3 separate regions of the Homo sapiens genome follow, and regions 2 and 3 are each linked to region 1. Evidence: promoter capture Hi-C in 16 types of primary human blood cells and fetal thymus (Javierre and others, 2016). All regions are on one chromosome and are shown on one strand. Each heading gives the region's core, a stretch centred on a gene start or on the middle of the fragment in contact. The rest is flanking DNA. Distances are from core to core; before and after follow the strand shown.

Evidence for each region. The method cuts DNA at HindIII sites, captures the fragments that hold promoters and counts their contacts. A CHiCAGO score of 5 or more calls a contact.
Region 2: a fragment that was not itself captured here is called in contact with the fragment with the promoter of THEM4 in region 1 in 1 of 17 cell types (total CD4 T cells); the score reaches 5.2 in total CD4 T cells.
Region 3: a fragment that was not itself captured here is called in contact with the fragment with the promoter of THEM4 in region 1 in 4 of 17 cell types (naive CD4 T cells, megakaryocytes, non-activated CD4 T cells and 1 more); the score reaches 6.9 in naive CD4 T cells.

The regions. Positions count from the first base shown.
Region 1 is chr1:151,907,608-151,911,848 of GRCh38, forward strand. It overlaps THEM4 (thioesterase superfamily member 4), which reads right to left and starts at 1,904. Exons shown (of 6, transcript NM_053055.5): 1 at 1,753-1,904. The coding sequence starts at 1,851. RefSeq lists a silencer at 1,631-1,940 and enhancers at 2,181-2,300, 2,289-2,876. The HindIII fragment of the contact is 4,270 bases long and covers 1-4,150 here.
Region 2 is chr1:151,410,617-151,414,857 of GRCh38, forward strand. POGZ (pogo transposable element derived with ZNF domain) reads right to left here. Exons shown (of 19, transcript NM_015100.4): 11 at 1,680-1,780; 12 at 1,009-1,155. Among named protein-coding and RNA genes, the nearest start is that of PSMB4, 13 kb to the left of the region's middle. The HindIII fragment of the contact is 318 bases long and covers 1,986-2,303 here.
Region 3 is chr1:151,452,672-151,456,912 of GRCh38, forward strand. The region is part of intron 1 of POGZ (pogo transposable element derived with ZNF domain); the gene reads right to left. Among named protein-coding and RNA genes, the nearest start is that of POGZ, 4.7 kb to the right of the region's middle. The HindIII fragment of the contact is 951 bases long and covers 1,727-2,677 here.

The DNA of each region.
Region 1 (4,241 bases), core at 654-3,153:
CTCCTGTCTCACCCCATGGCCTCTCCAGTCCTCCTTCATTCCTGCAACAGAAGGATGAGTGAAATGGGGACTCAAAACCTCTCACTTTCATTTCTGAGCCTTTTGGTCTTATGGCATTCCTCTTCTTTTTGGGGGGACAGCAACGGCACCTATTTTTCTTTTTACGATACTGGAGGTGGTCCACACCCACCCCAATGGTCACCAGTGCACTCACAAGACAGTTGGGTGGGGTAGCTCCCTGGCCCCACTTCTTTACTGGCTGGGGTGCATGGTGGTGTCTGCAGCATGTGTGTGTGGTGTCCAGTAGCCACACAGGGCATAAATGAGCCACAGCCACTGCCCAGGCTCCAAGGCGCCGGCATGGCTGGCTGGCGTTCCCTACCAGGTGCCTGCAGTCTCCCCCTCCCCATTCCAGGGAGTCTAGCTCTGTCCCACAGCAATTAAGCTCCTCTCTCTGGTGGAGGAACCATTTGCATAGGAATAAGAGGTTCTTCCCCCAGGCATCCTTATCTCCTCTCCAACCCATCAGCAGTATACTTTTAAAGGAGGTTTTTCTTTTCCTTTTGGAAGACGTTTTGCTCTTTTGGGAATGATGAGGATTACCGTTTATATTTTCTGTAAAGTTTTGTGCGAAAGGATTTGTGAGGTAAGTCGTAAGCTGTAGCCAATCTGTGTGTTTTGCATGTCTTTCTGTATGCTCCACAGCAAACTTCGCTGCAGGCCTCCATCTTGTTTTACGTCCTTGGGGGCGTGGCCTGTAACCCCATTGCATAGCTTCGTTTAGCCCGGCATGGCCCAGATTCATCCTGGCTTAGGGAATGAGTCCTTTCTGGTTTGGTATCTGTATGCCCTTTCGCTATTTGTCGATTCCCCTGCCCTCCACCAACCACCTTGGATTTTCCTTTCTCTGAGCCTTTAAGTAAAGTTTGAAAGCCAGAAATATTGGCCGCTTGGTGGAGCTAAAGTTAGATAATAAGGGTGTTAAAAGAATTTTCTTAAGGAGTGCTCAGCTTAATTAAAAGTAGATATCTAAGTTGTAATTATATTTATAAGGCCTTTATGTTTTCCTTTTCTTGGACCTTATTTTGCTGGAAAAAGTGTTTCTTTGCGGTCGACTGAGTTATTTTTCTCCATTTTGCCTTGCCACTTTTAATGCCTGCATAAGAGGGGCGATCTCTGTTTTCCTCATGGAACCCCAGGAATTAAAAGCAGATAGATCCCTCTCCCTGTGATGAAAGATCTTATGGCAACTGGGTTTTCTTCTGCCTGTCTGTGTAGTTATATATGTGTTGTGTGTGATGTCTATAAAAAGATCTCTAATTAATTGACCTAAAGGAAGATAAGCGTTTGGATCAAATATTTTTTTAAAGGGAAGATAAAAGCTGTGGTATCTTTTAGTTCACGTCACTTTAATCTTTGAAAAATAAAAACAGCCTCAAATATTATTGGTAAAATACAGATGTTGTCAAAATATAAATAGACAGACTAAATTATGCAGTTCAGGTAGCGCCCTGCCGACCCTGTCTCTTAAAAAACAAAAAAACGGGGTCACCTTTCCATCCCTTTTCTAACGGTTTGAATCTCAGGACTGTATTCCTAGGCCCCTGTTGCTTATGCTGCCCTGTGGTGCCCAGGTGAGCTTTTATTCTGAGATTGGCTGGTTGGGGTATGGATAACAATCGAAGGCTCTGTTACCGCAGGCGTGTTTCTGAGTCCTGCTCCCGCCCCATGCCCGAGGGTGCCCAGACTCACCAGCTCGGGTCGCGGCTCGCTTCCCGGCAGGCGCCGGCCTACTGGCGGCAGGCACAGAGCCCCCAGCGTGCGGAGGCGCGCGGCGCAGCTCCTCAGCATGGCTCCGGGCCGCGGGGCCGCGCTTGCTCTAGCCCTGGACGGCGCACTCTACCTCCGCCACAAGAGCGCGCGTGCGAGTTAACCCCTGGGGTGGACGCAGGGCGGGGCTTGGGGAGGAGGCGGTGCGCACTACTGGCGGCTGGCTGGCCGGGGTGTGAGGCCGGCGGGGTCCGGGTAGGGCATCGCTGTTGAGTCTATCTTCTGGTTCCGGCCTTTTCTTTCCGAAGACCTCCCGCTGCGGCCAACAGCCGGGCCACTTCCGGGGCTTCTCAAAGGCAAGAGGAGCGCGGCCGGAGCGGATCCCGGTTATCGCCTTGGGCCCCTCAGCCCCTCAGCCCCGGAACCCGCGCGCCGACTGGAGGCTTTGCGGTCATCCTTCCCACATGACCCAGGGCGTACGCAGTGCTCCGTGTCCCCAAGTAGTTATCCCTCCCCCGGAAGACTGAAGTCCCTGGGGCGGGTAGGAGCGCACGCTAGGAGTAGTATGAATAAAGTGTTTTCTTGGAGGTCATGGGCAAGTCTCTGGACAGGGTTGATAGTGCTGATTTATAGAGGGCAGTCTGGGCACAAAGAGCATTTATACGATCGAAAAGCTGCTTTCCCTGCCAACAGCCCCATACCCTCCCCAGGAGCGCGCTTACGCCTTAAAAGACTCTTTTGTTATGTAAACTGACAGTTAAATTAAACGAAGGTAATGGATACTAAAGGCGTAACAGGTATTGTAACTATTTTACTGTTATCGATGCTTTTGAGGTTACTTACCTCGCTTGTATTCGTATGGTGGGAATACTAGGCGCATACCTTCTGAGCTTCGAATTCAGTAACCTCACTGGGACCTTGAAATCGGACTGGGTTGGAGTATTCCCATTACTCAGATAATGCAAATCCGGGCCATCATACCCCTTTATTTTTAAATGCTTACCAGTATGCCATAGCCCTAGTCCATCCTAAGGTGAAGACTCTAATGGGTTTTTTTTGAGACAGAGTCTCGCAGAGATACTGCTATTGCACTTCAGCCTGGGCAACATACTGATGCCCCATCTCAAAAAAGCAATAAATTAAAAAGAAAACTCGAATGACCTGAATGCATTAGATATTTTGCCTTGATTCCTTTCCCATGAACAACTCCAGCAGTTTGTCAGTAGGTAAGAACACCTAGATACATTTTAAGCCTACACTATTAACTGGGGGAAGGTGTAACATTCTGAGAGAAAGGGAATTGGGGAGAGAAGGCAATGCAGTTAGGAGGGGCCCCTTGGAATCCTAGAGCTACTGAACCGAAGATCAGGCATAAAGGATGGTTGTTGAGATTCTGTAATTCTAAGAGGTTGTATTCTGATATCTCCTAAGCACCCCCCCCAACCTCCCACATTCCCTTTATCTCAGTTGTCTTCCTTTTTAATATATTAATAGTATTGCAGTTTCCTGGTGGCAGGGATGGGGTCAGATTGCCTTATTAATTGTAACAACGTGCACGTAGTGCTTGAATACTTACTTAGCAGCAAGAATCCAAAGTATCTTTGGTGTCTGTTGTCTTCCCATGTTGTGCGTGCAGATGGAGGCACGAGCATAACGTAAATCTCTAAAATTGAGATGACTACTGTTAATGAATAGAAAAGTTTATTCAGGTAACTTAAAATTGCATCTATTTACAATTTACAGTGTAGTCAAATCAATCAATACCTATAGACTTCAACCCTGCTAAGATTGTCTATATGATTAATGTACCAATAGCTCACCTAACAGCTTCCTTTTGTTTTTTTGAGATGGAGTCTCACTCTGTTGCCCAGGCTGGAAGTGCAGTGGCATGATCTTGGCTCACTGCAACCTCTGCCTCCAGGGTTCAAGCGATTCTCCCTGCCTCAACCTCCCGAGTAGGTGGGATTACAGGCGCGTGCCACCACATCTGGCTAATTTTTATATTTTTGGTAGAGACGGGGTTTCACCCTGTTGGCCAGGCTGGTCTTGAACTCCTGACCTCAAGTGATCTGCCTGCCTCCCAAAGTGCTGGGATTACCAGCATGAGCCACTGCACTCGGCACCTATCAGCTTCTTAAAAGACCTTAGACTTAGGGCAATTAGAGGTCAGTTACACTGAGTTTAAACTTCATTAAATTTTAACTCTAAATTTTTCAAGTAGCGGCAGTGCATTTAGTTAAGTCATCCACACTCTTGCATGGCTTACTCTGGGATATTCGTGTTGACAGCACATATAAAATGTCTGGTCAGATTTGGAAGAGGAAGGGCAGGTTACAGTCTAGAAATAGGATTGATAGGCTATGGAAGTGAAGGAGTTTGAAGCTTGTATGGTTTAGGCAAGGAACAAATGTTCAATCTTGATAGAACTAGGCTTCGAATAAGCCAATGGTATGAAACTTAATAGTCTTCTC
Region 2 (4,241 bases), core at 895-3,394, 500 kb before region 1:
GTTTAAAATCTATAGGATTTATATAACGCTGATTCCTAAATCTTTTCTACAACCCAGAGTTCTCTCACAGGCTTGAGATCTATTATCCAACAGCTACACTTGACATCCACAGATACTGCTAACTTACAATATCCAAGCTCATGATCTCCCCCCTCACAAATATACTTTCTCTATTGTTTCTATTTCAGCAAATAGTTCCCTCATTCACCCAACTGCCCAAGACAGAATCTTAGGCACTATTCTTAACTACTGCATTGCTACCTTCACCTAATCCATCTCTACATCATAAATATCACAAATCTTCTGAATATCTCTCAACTCTACCCTCTTTTTATTTCAAAAGCCAATAGCCACTATCATCTCTCACCTAAACTACTGAAAAAGGCCTTCTAGCTAGTTTCCCTAACTGTAGTCTCAATCTCCTTTAATCCATTCTCTGCAGTGCAGGCAGTATAAAGCCTTAACTAAAGCTGAACACATCACTCCAGGGCTTAAAACCCCTTTAGTGGCTTCCCAGTGAATTCTTTTCATGGCTTAAAAGATCCTCCATGATCTGTCCCTGCCTAACTTCCAACCCCTCTGTCTCTTACACCCTACACTGAATCTCTCTCAATTTCTTGAACCTCCACAATTTTGCTTTGTGCCTTGGGCACACTGTTCTTCGTCTTATTTCATCTGGCTCATTCTTATTCATCCCTCAGGTATTGAACAACACTTCTTTCTGGAAGCCTTACTAGGCACCCAGAATAGCTATGTGATTTTCTATATCCTATAATTTCCCCAACACAGTACTCTTCATGTTTTATTGTATTGTTTGCCTTGTTTACTACTAAATCTCTAGCATCTAGACTAGTACATGGCACATTAAGTGAATTCAATAAATTTCTGCAAACATATGCATATTATAATCTCTGCCCAAATTATTTGCCTAGCTCAGCCCTGGCCCCAGCATCCATGTTTAAAAAAAAAAAAAACAAGAGAATATGGGAATTGCTTGGTGCCTAGTACCTGGTGCCTCATGTAATGCTGTTGGAATGCATTGCCATTTTTGAAGACCTTCAGGCAATAAGGGCAGAGCAGATGCCGGGTATCCTCATGGATCATCCGAAAATGGACATCTACCTCAGAGTAGAGTGAGGAGCGATATTGACACACCTGAGTCACATAGGAGGGAAAATAAGGCTAAGAATGAAGTGAACAACTGAGAGGCCTTAAAAAAAAAGGTAGCAACAAAAATTTTTAAATTAAAAAAAAAAAGTTTTCTCAAATGCATAGAAATCAAATTATTTTCCTGACTTTGTAATGCTGGGCTATGTTTGTGATAGGTTTAGCTATTACTTTAAAAATAGGAAGGGACAGAAAGTCTAAGAATAATCCATGTTCTCTAACTAAGAAAAATAAAGCCTTTTCTGTCAATTTCCAAAGGGCACGTTCAGGAGACAGACACTCCCTTAGAATATGCACATGTTCCCGGCTAGTCTACTTGTGGACATGTTCTTTTATGTTTTTCTCCTGCATGGAAACCCTGAAGATAAACTGTGTTTACTATTTCTTCTGTACCTACTCAGAGTTCCTAAACTGAGTGTATGCAGTAGGTGGTCAACAATATTCATTAGTAAATTCTTTGTATTCTTCCTGAGGGCAAAACTGCTAAAACTCCCTGGAGAAAAAGGCAATACCTGGCAAACATAAGGCATCTCTCCAGGCTTATGAGTATCCTTCATATGCTGGAGAAATAGTGGCTCACTTTCAAACGCCCATTCACAGATCTTGCACTTGGCTGTAAGAAGAAAAGTAATCAATAAATCCACTTGAAAATAAGACAAAAGTCCTGCTGACTCACAATCTTTATTTTCTCTGCCTCCTTTATTTTGATTTTCAACAATCAGTAAATCATAGGTCCCTTCTGTTCTTTCTTTAAATGGCTCCACCTTAACATATATGTTGCTGATAATCTTATGTACGTAGCTCAGACTTCTTACCAAAGCTTCATTCTAGATTTTATCTATAAGACATTTTAAATTGGTTATTCTATCGTCAACTCTAACCTAATTCAGCATCCTCCTGTCTTACCACTGTTTCCCTTTTTCCTTTCCCCATTTCTTCCTGAGCTCAAAATTTAGGCACTATCTCGGATTCCAAACCCTGCATTCTGTCACCATTATTTCAAACTGCATGTAGGAACTGTCACTTCTCTATACTTATAATAAGGCAAAAACTTGGTACTAGCCCATATGATTTCCCACTGCTAATCAGCTGGCCTCCAATACCTCCTACTCTCTTTGAAATTGTCCATTTTGTCAAGCTTATGAGAAAAAATTTTGACAAAATTTTATGACACAAATGAACAATTTTGTCAAACTTCTGAGACAATTTTTGGTAATTTCATGTTGGCCAGGTTGGTCTCGAACTCCTGACCTCAGGTGATCTACCTGTCCCAGCCTCCCAAAGTGCTGGGATTATAGGTGTGAGCCACCGTGCCTGGGCTTTTTTTTTTTTTTTTTTTTTTAAGAGACAGAATCTCACTGTTGCTCAGGCTGGAGCATGATCATAGCTCACCGCAGCCTCCTGAGTAGCTAGGACTATCCTTTGAGCTCAAGCGAGCCTCCTGTTTCAGCCTCCCAAGTAGCTAGGACTACAGTGGTGCACCACCATGCCCAAGTAATTAAAAAAAATTTTTTTTTGTAGGGACAGGGTCTCGCCATGTTGCCCAGGCTGGTCGGAAACTCCTGGCCTCAAGCAATCCTTTTGTCAATCCACTTCAGTCTCCCAAAGTGCTAGAATTACAGGTGTGAGCCAGTGCACCGGCCAATTTTGGTAAGACTTTTAACTGCTACATATTTTTAATTATACAGTATGGCAAAAAGAGAGAGATTATTTACATTTTTGTCACTTTAATGGAATTAGTTTCAAGTTTTTGCAAATATGAAAACTGGAAGCTTAAAGCCTTGGGCATTTACTGGACAATGTCTAACCTCCCCCCGCCCCCAGCCCCCTACACCCCAGCCAAAGAAATATGAATAAAGTTGAAATAATTCTTTTTTCTTTTTTTAACTACCGAGAACCCTGGATTTTTGTTTTGAGACAGAGTCTCGTTCTGTCTCGCACGCTAGAGCGCAGTGGCTCAATCATGGCTCACTGCAACCCTGACCTCCCAAGCTCAAGCAATCCTCCCATCTCAGCCTCCCAAAGTACCAGAATTACAGGTATGAGCCACTGTGCCTAGCCAAGTAATTTTTTAAAGTAAAACAAACAAACAAAAGCCAGGGGTTCTTAATCTGGGGTCTATGGAACAGGCCTCTAGGAATCCAGGCTTTCTCTGAAATTATTTGCAAAAGAGTAAAATGTAGATTTTTCTAGGAAGAGGATTCAAACATTTCATATTTATTCTCAAAGAGGTCTGCAACTCCATTTAGAAACACTGTCTACAGGTACATTAGGTGCTATGAGGACATGGATAAATAAGAAATTCTGCATAAAGGAATGAGGAAAAGCTATAACAACATATAAAAGCTGAATTGTCAAAGAATGGGGCTCAGCCAGCCAGAGAGAGGACCAAGAGAAAAGCAGGAGGAAAGGCAAGTAGGTATGAAAGTTAACCACATGTTTGGGAAACAGTTAACTAGCAACATAACGATATTATCTCTTTTCCACTCACCCCCCGATTTGTTTACCTCTCTCATTTTTCTCTTCTAGAACACCTTTAAGCAATATTTTGTCCAGGCCTTTCTTAGTCTATGTTTTCCCTGGGCAATCTCATTCACTCTTTCTCCTATAACCTATTTATCAGCTCTATTTTCACAGCTGTCATGCAACATCAATAATAAAAACACTTATTAAGCAATTTCTAATGTACAAGCATCAGGTTAAGATTTACATGTGTTGGCTGGGCACGGTGGCTCATGCCTGTAATCCCAACACTTTGGGAGGCCAAGGCAGGCGGATCACCTGAGGTTGGGAGTTCAAGACAAGCCTGACCAACATGGAGAAACCCTGTCTCTACTAAAAATACAAAATCAGCCGGGCACAGTAATGCATGTCTGTAGTCCCAGCTACTTGGGAGGCTGAGGCAAGAGAATCGCTTGAAGCTGGGAGGCAGAGGCTGCGGTGAGCCAAGATGGCGCCACTACACTCCAGCCTGGGCAACAAGAGCGAAACTCCCTCAAAAAAAAGAAAAAAAAGATTTACATTGTGTTATCTCAAGAAAACTAGTGAGGTAGGAACTCAAATATAAGGGGATT
Region 3 (4,241 bases), core at 952-3,451, 450 kb before region 1:
TGGCCAACACAGTGAAACCCCGTCTCTACTAAAAATACAAAAATTAGCCATGCGTGGTGGCTGGTGCCTGCAGTCCCAGCTACTCGGAAGGCTGAGGCAGGATAATCGCTTGAATTCGGGAGGCAGAGGTTGCAGTGAGCCAAGATTGTGCCACTGCACTCTAGTCTAGGCAACAGAGCGAGACTCTGTCTTAAAAAAAAAAAGTCACTCTGTCTAGGTGGTGGATAGTTTAAGTGTTCCTTGTAGAATTCTTTCACCCTTTTCTTTTTTCTTCTTTTTGTGATGGAGTCTCGCTCAGTTGCCCAGGCTGGAGTGATCTTGGCTCACTGCAACCTCCACCTCCCAGGTTCAAGTGATTTTCCTGCCTCAGCCTCCTGAGTAGCTGGGATTACATGCATGCGCCACAACGCCCAGCTAATTTTTGTATTTTTAGTAGAGACAGGTTTCACCATGTTGGTCAGGCTGGTCTTGAACTCCTGACCTTGTGATCCGCCCATCTTGGCCTCCCAAAGTGCTTCGGTTACAGGTGTGAGCCACTGCGCCCAGCCTCTTTCTCCCTTTTCGCATGCGTGAAATTTTCTTAATAAAAACTGAGGTGGGGTAGGAGGGAGTGGAACTACCTACTCATATCTTAGCTGTGATATTCTGTACTGCTACATTCCACCTATCTCTTTGGTATTTACTAAATAACTGGTAGCCTTGTTGGTTGAATTTCTTGATTTATTCCCAGGACCAATTTTCATGTAGCTTGTATATATACATTTCTCTTTTTTTATTTTTATGCATCCATTTTCACTTAATATACATTTCTTAAGACATAGCAAAATAGTTAAATAAGAAATAACAAATTAAGGTGGATTATGTAGGCTACCAAGGAGGTACATTACTTTCTTCCATTAATCCATTATTTGACATCTTGGTAACCTAGGTGGTTTCTCTATTTTGTAGTAATTGTAACATGATTTTTTTGTGCACTCAATAGGTTTTACTTAACACTGCAGGCTCACACAGAACTATTAGCAATACTCAGTCTCTTGTCTCATCCTTCAATCCATAATATGGGAGTACCAGATAAATACTCTCCTGGAGGGAAGGGGACTATTTCTTAAATGCTGGCGAATATGGTAGTCTATACTAAGGCCCTATATGATCAGCTAGTCAATAAAAGTCTATATAATTGTAAAGGCAAGATAAAAACAGACCTTTTAAAACAATATACTATTTAAAAGCAGCAAAAAGAATCCTGCAGATACACCTGTATACTTTTAAGGTATTTAATGGGCAGCAAATGTTGCCTATCTTCATCTCAAAGAAAATGAGAAAAAGATCTGTTTTCCACAACTATCCTGACATACTTGGTTCTTGAAAGCTCTGAATTCCTTTGTCTTGTTCTTTCATAGCTGTAAAGTCCAGAAATGAAGAATGAAGAATTCAGAAATGAAGAATTTGGTATCTAACGTTTTCAACTTACTGCCAGTACATACCTGCCCAAAAATCAACATAAAAAGAACATTTGGAACAGGAAAAATATTTTACAGAAAACAAACATTTTAAGAATACCACTTTCTTGTTCCAGGGTGAAAAATAAACAATGATAATCCTCAACATAACTGGTAATTATGTTTTCAAGTTACCTCAATTTTTGGCTCTAAAAAGGACTAATACCAGAAAACCTATAGGGCTGAATACTTAATCTGTGTATAAAACTATAGTTAAACATGTAATAAGCTTTTATTTATCCAGTCTTTTGCACAGCCCATTTTGTCCCTCACAACATCTGTTATAGTACCTCATATGTAAGAATCATAAGGGTTTTAAGTAGTCTTAATAACCTAAAATTTCCAAACTCAAAATACTTTCCTCTTGTCTGGTAGCCAATCCTGTATCAAGAAACACCCAAATATTTAGTTCTGTGCTCTTTACTAAAACAAGTAAGCAACAAGTTCTCTTCTTTAAAGGGGTTCAATATTCAGGAGTCCCTTTCCCAAGAAAAATATCTATACTATGATGGAAAACTTTTCTTCAATGACAGCTGTGTGTTGCCTAAATTCCATTTCTATGCTTTCAATTTCTTTTAACTCTGCTAACACCTAGCAATAGGTTAGTGTCTCTTTTCTGCTCTCCTCCCCTTGGTTACATATAAAAATACGTTTTTCAGTTGGGCGTGGTGGCTCACGCCTGTAATCCCAGCACTTTGGGAGGCCAAGGCGGGTCGATCAAGAGGTCAGGAGTTTGAGACCAGCCTGATCAATATGGTGAAACCCCATCTCTAGAAAAATACAAAAATTACCCAGGTGTGGTGGCGCGTGCCTGTAATCCCAGCTACTGAGGAAGCTGAAGGAGGAGAATCGCTTGAACCCAGGAGGCGGAGGGTGCAGTGAGCCGAGATTGCGCCATTACGCTCCAGCCTGGGCAATAGAGCGAGACTCCATCTCAAAAAAAAAAAAAAGACAAGTTTTTGTGAATATGGCTTAATATCACAAACAAGAATACCAAAGAATCTATCAAAATGTTACCATATTGATATTATGGCAAAGGCATTAACCAGCTCTAGGATTTGTAATCAACCAGCTCTAAAGTTTTTATTTTACAGATAAGGTCAAAACAGTGGTTTAGAGAGACGAAGTAACTTCCTCAAGGTTACAGTTAGTAAATATCCCAGTTAGGATTCAAAGCAAGCTTTTTTTGCTTTAGAATTCTTCCCCAGGTCACTGCCTCTTCCATCAACTTCAACTATTTATAAATTCTCCCAAGTTCCCCAAGGGAGTTAGATTTGAATGATGTAAAGAGCAGAAACATAGGACTGACTGAATGATTCTCATTTTTTTGACTCTTAAAATTATTGAAGACGCCAAAGATCTTTTGTTTATGTGAATTTTATCTTTCCACATTTACCACAAATTTTTAAAATGTAGTATTTATCAATGTATTTTAAGACAAGCCCATTATAAGTTAACATAAATAACATTTCAACAAAAAATACTTTCCCTCCAAAAAGTGAGAAAAGTAACGTTGTTTTGCATTTTGCAAATCTCTTTTATGTCTAACTTGATAAAAGATGGTTGGATTCTCACAGTTACTTCTGCATTCAGTCTGTTGCTATATGTAGCTTTGGTTAAGTATATAATGAAAATCTAGTCGGAAAAGGGAGAAGTATTTTAATAACCTTTTCAGATAACTGTGTTTGGTAAATACTAAAACTCAACAAACGGTAGTTTCTTTCTTTTTTTTTTTTTTTTTTTTTTTTAATAAATAGAGACAGGGTCTCACTATGCTGACCAGGCTCAACTCCAACTCCTGGGCTCACACAATCCTTCCACCTTGGCCTCCCAAAGTGCTGGGATTACAGGAGTGAGCCACCACGCTAGGCCAAATAGTAGTTTCTTAAAGGACAGTTAACATTTTGGAATCTGAAACCACATCAATCCACTTTTTTACTGTTAAAATCCATTGCTATGTCTGGAATTTTCAAAGGATCTTTTGCCTTTGCTTGATTTTGCAACATCATGCATTGGTCATTTGCAAAGCCTAGATTTACTGAGTTATGCCCATCTTCCAAATAACATATTTCATTAAACAACATTTTAAAATATTGCAGTCCTTAACCACTGATATCATAAGGAAAGTCTTTTAAGTACTAGGAAGCTGTCAAACTCCAGCTGTCAACTTTTTAAAAATTCTAATTTTCACCCAAATTTTATCACTGGTAATAAATACTGTCAGTTGTTTTCCTAAAAGTGACAAGCTCACTTCATTTTCAAGAAATATCTGCCAAATACTAAGTGTGAAAAACCATAGTCTGCTAGTCGTTCTTTCAAGTAAAAATGCTACTCCATGAAATAAGCCATTCATTCACAACCCAATCTCACAAATGCTTTTCCTTCATGACAACAATCACACCTCCCTAGGCAGCATAAATGCTTTATCCATGTTTATTTAATCACAAATTCTTAAAAATTAAAAAGACATGTAGTCAAAAGCTAAGACTTAATAATAATAGGCCGGGCACGGTGGCTCATGCCTGTAATCCCAGCACTTTGGGACGCCGAGGCAGGTGGATCGCCTGAGGTCCGGAGTTCGAGACCAGCCTGGCCAACATGGCGAAACACTGTCTCTACTAAAAATACAACCAGGGAGGAAGAGATTGCAGTGAGCCGAGATAGTGCCACTGCACTCCACCCTGGGCGACAGAGCAAAACTCCGCCTCAAAAAAATAAAAATAGAATAATAAATTTTACTGC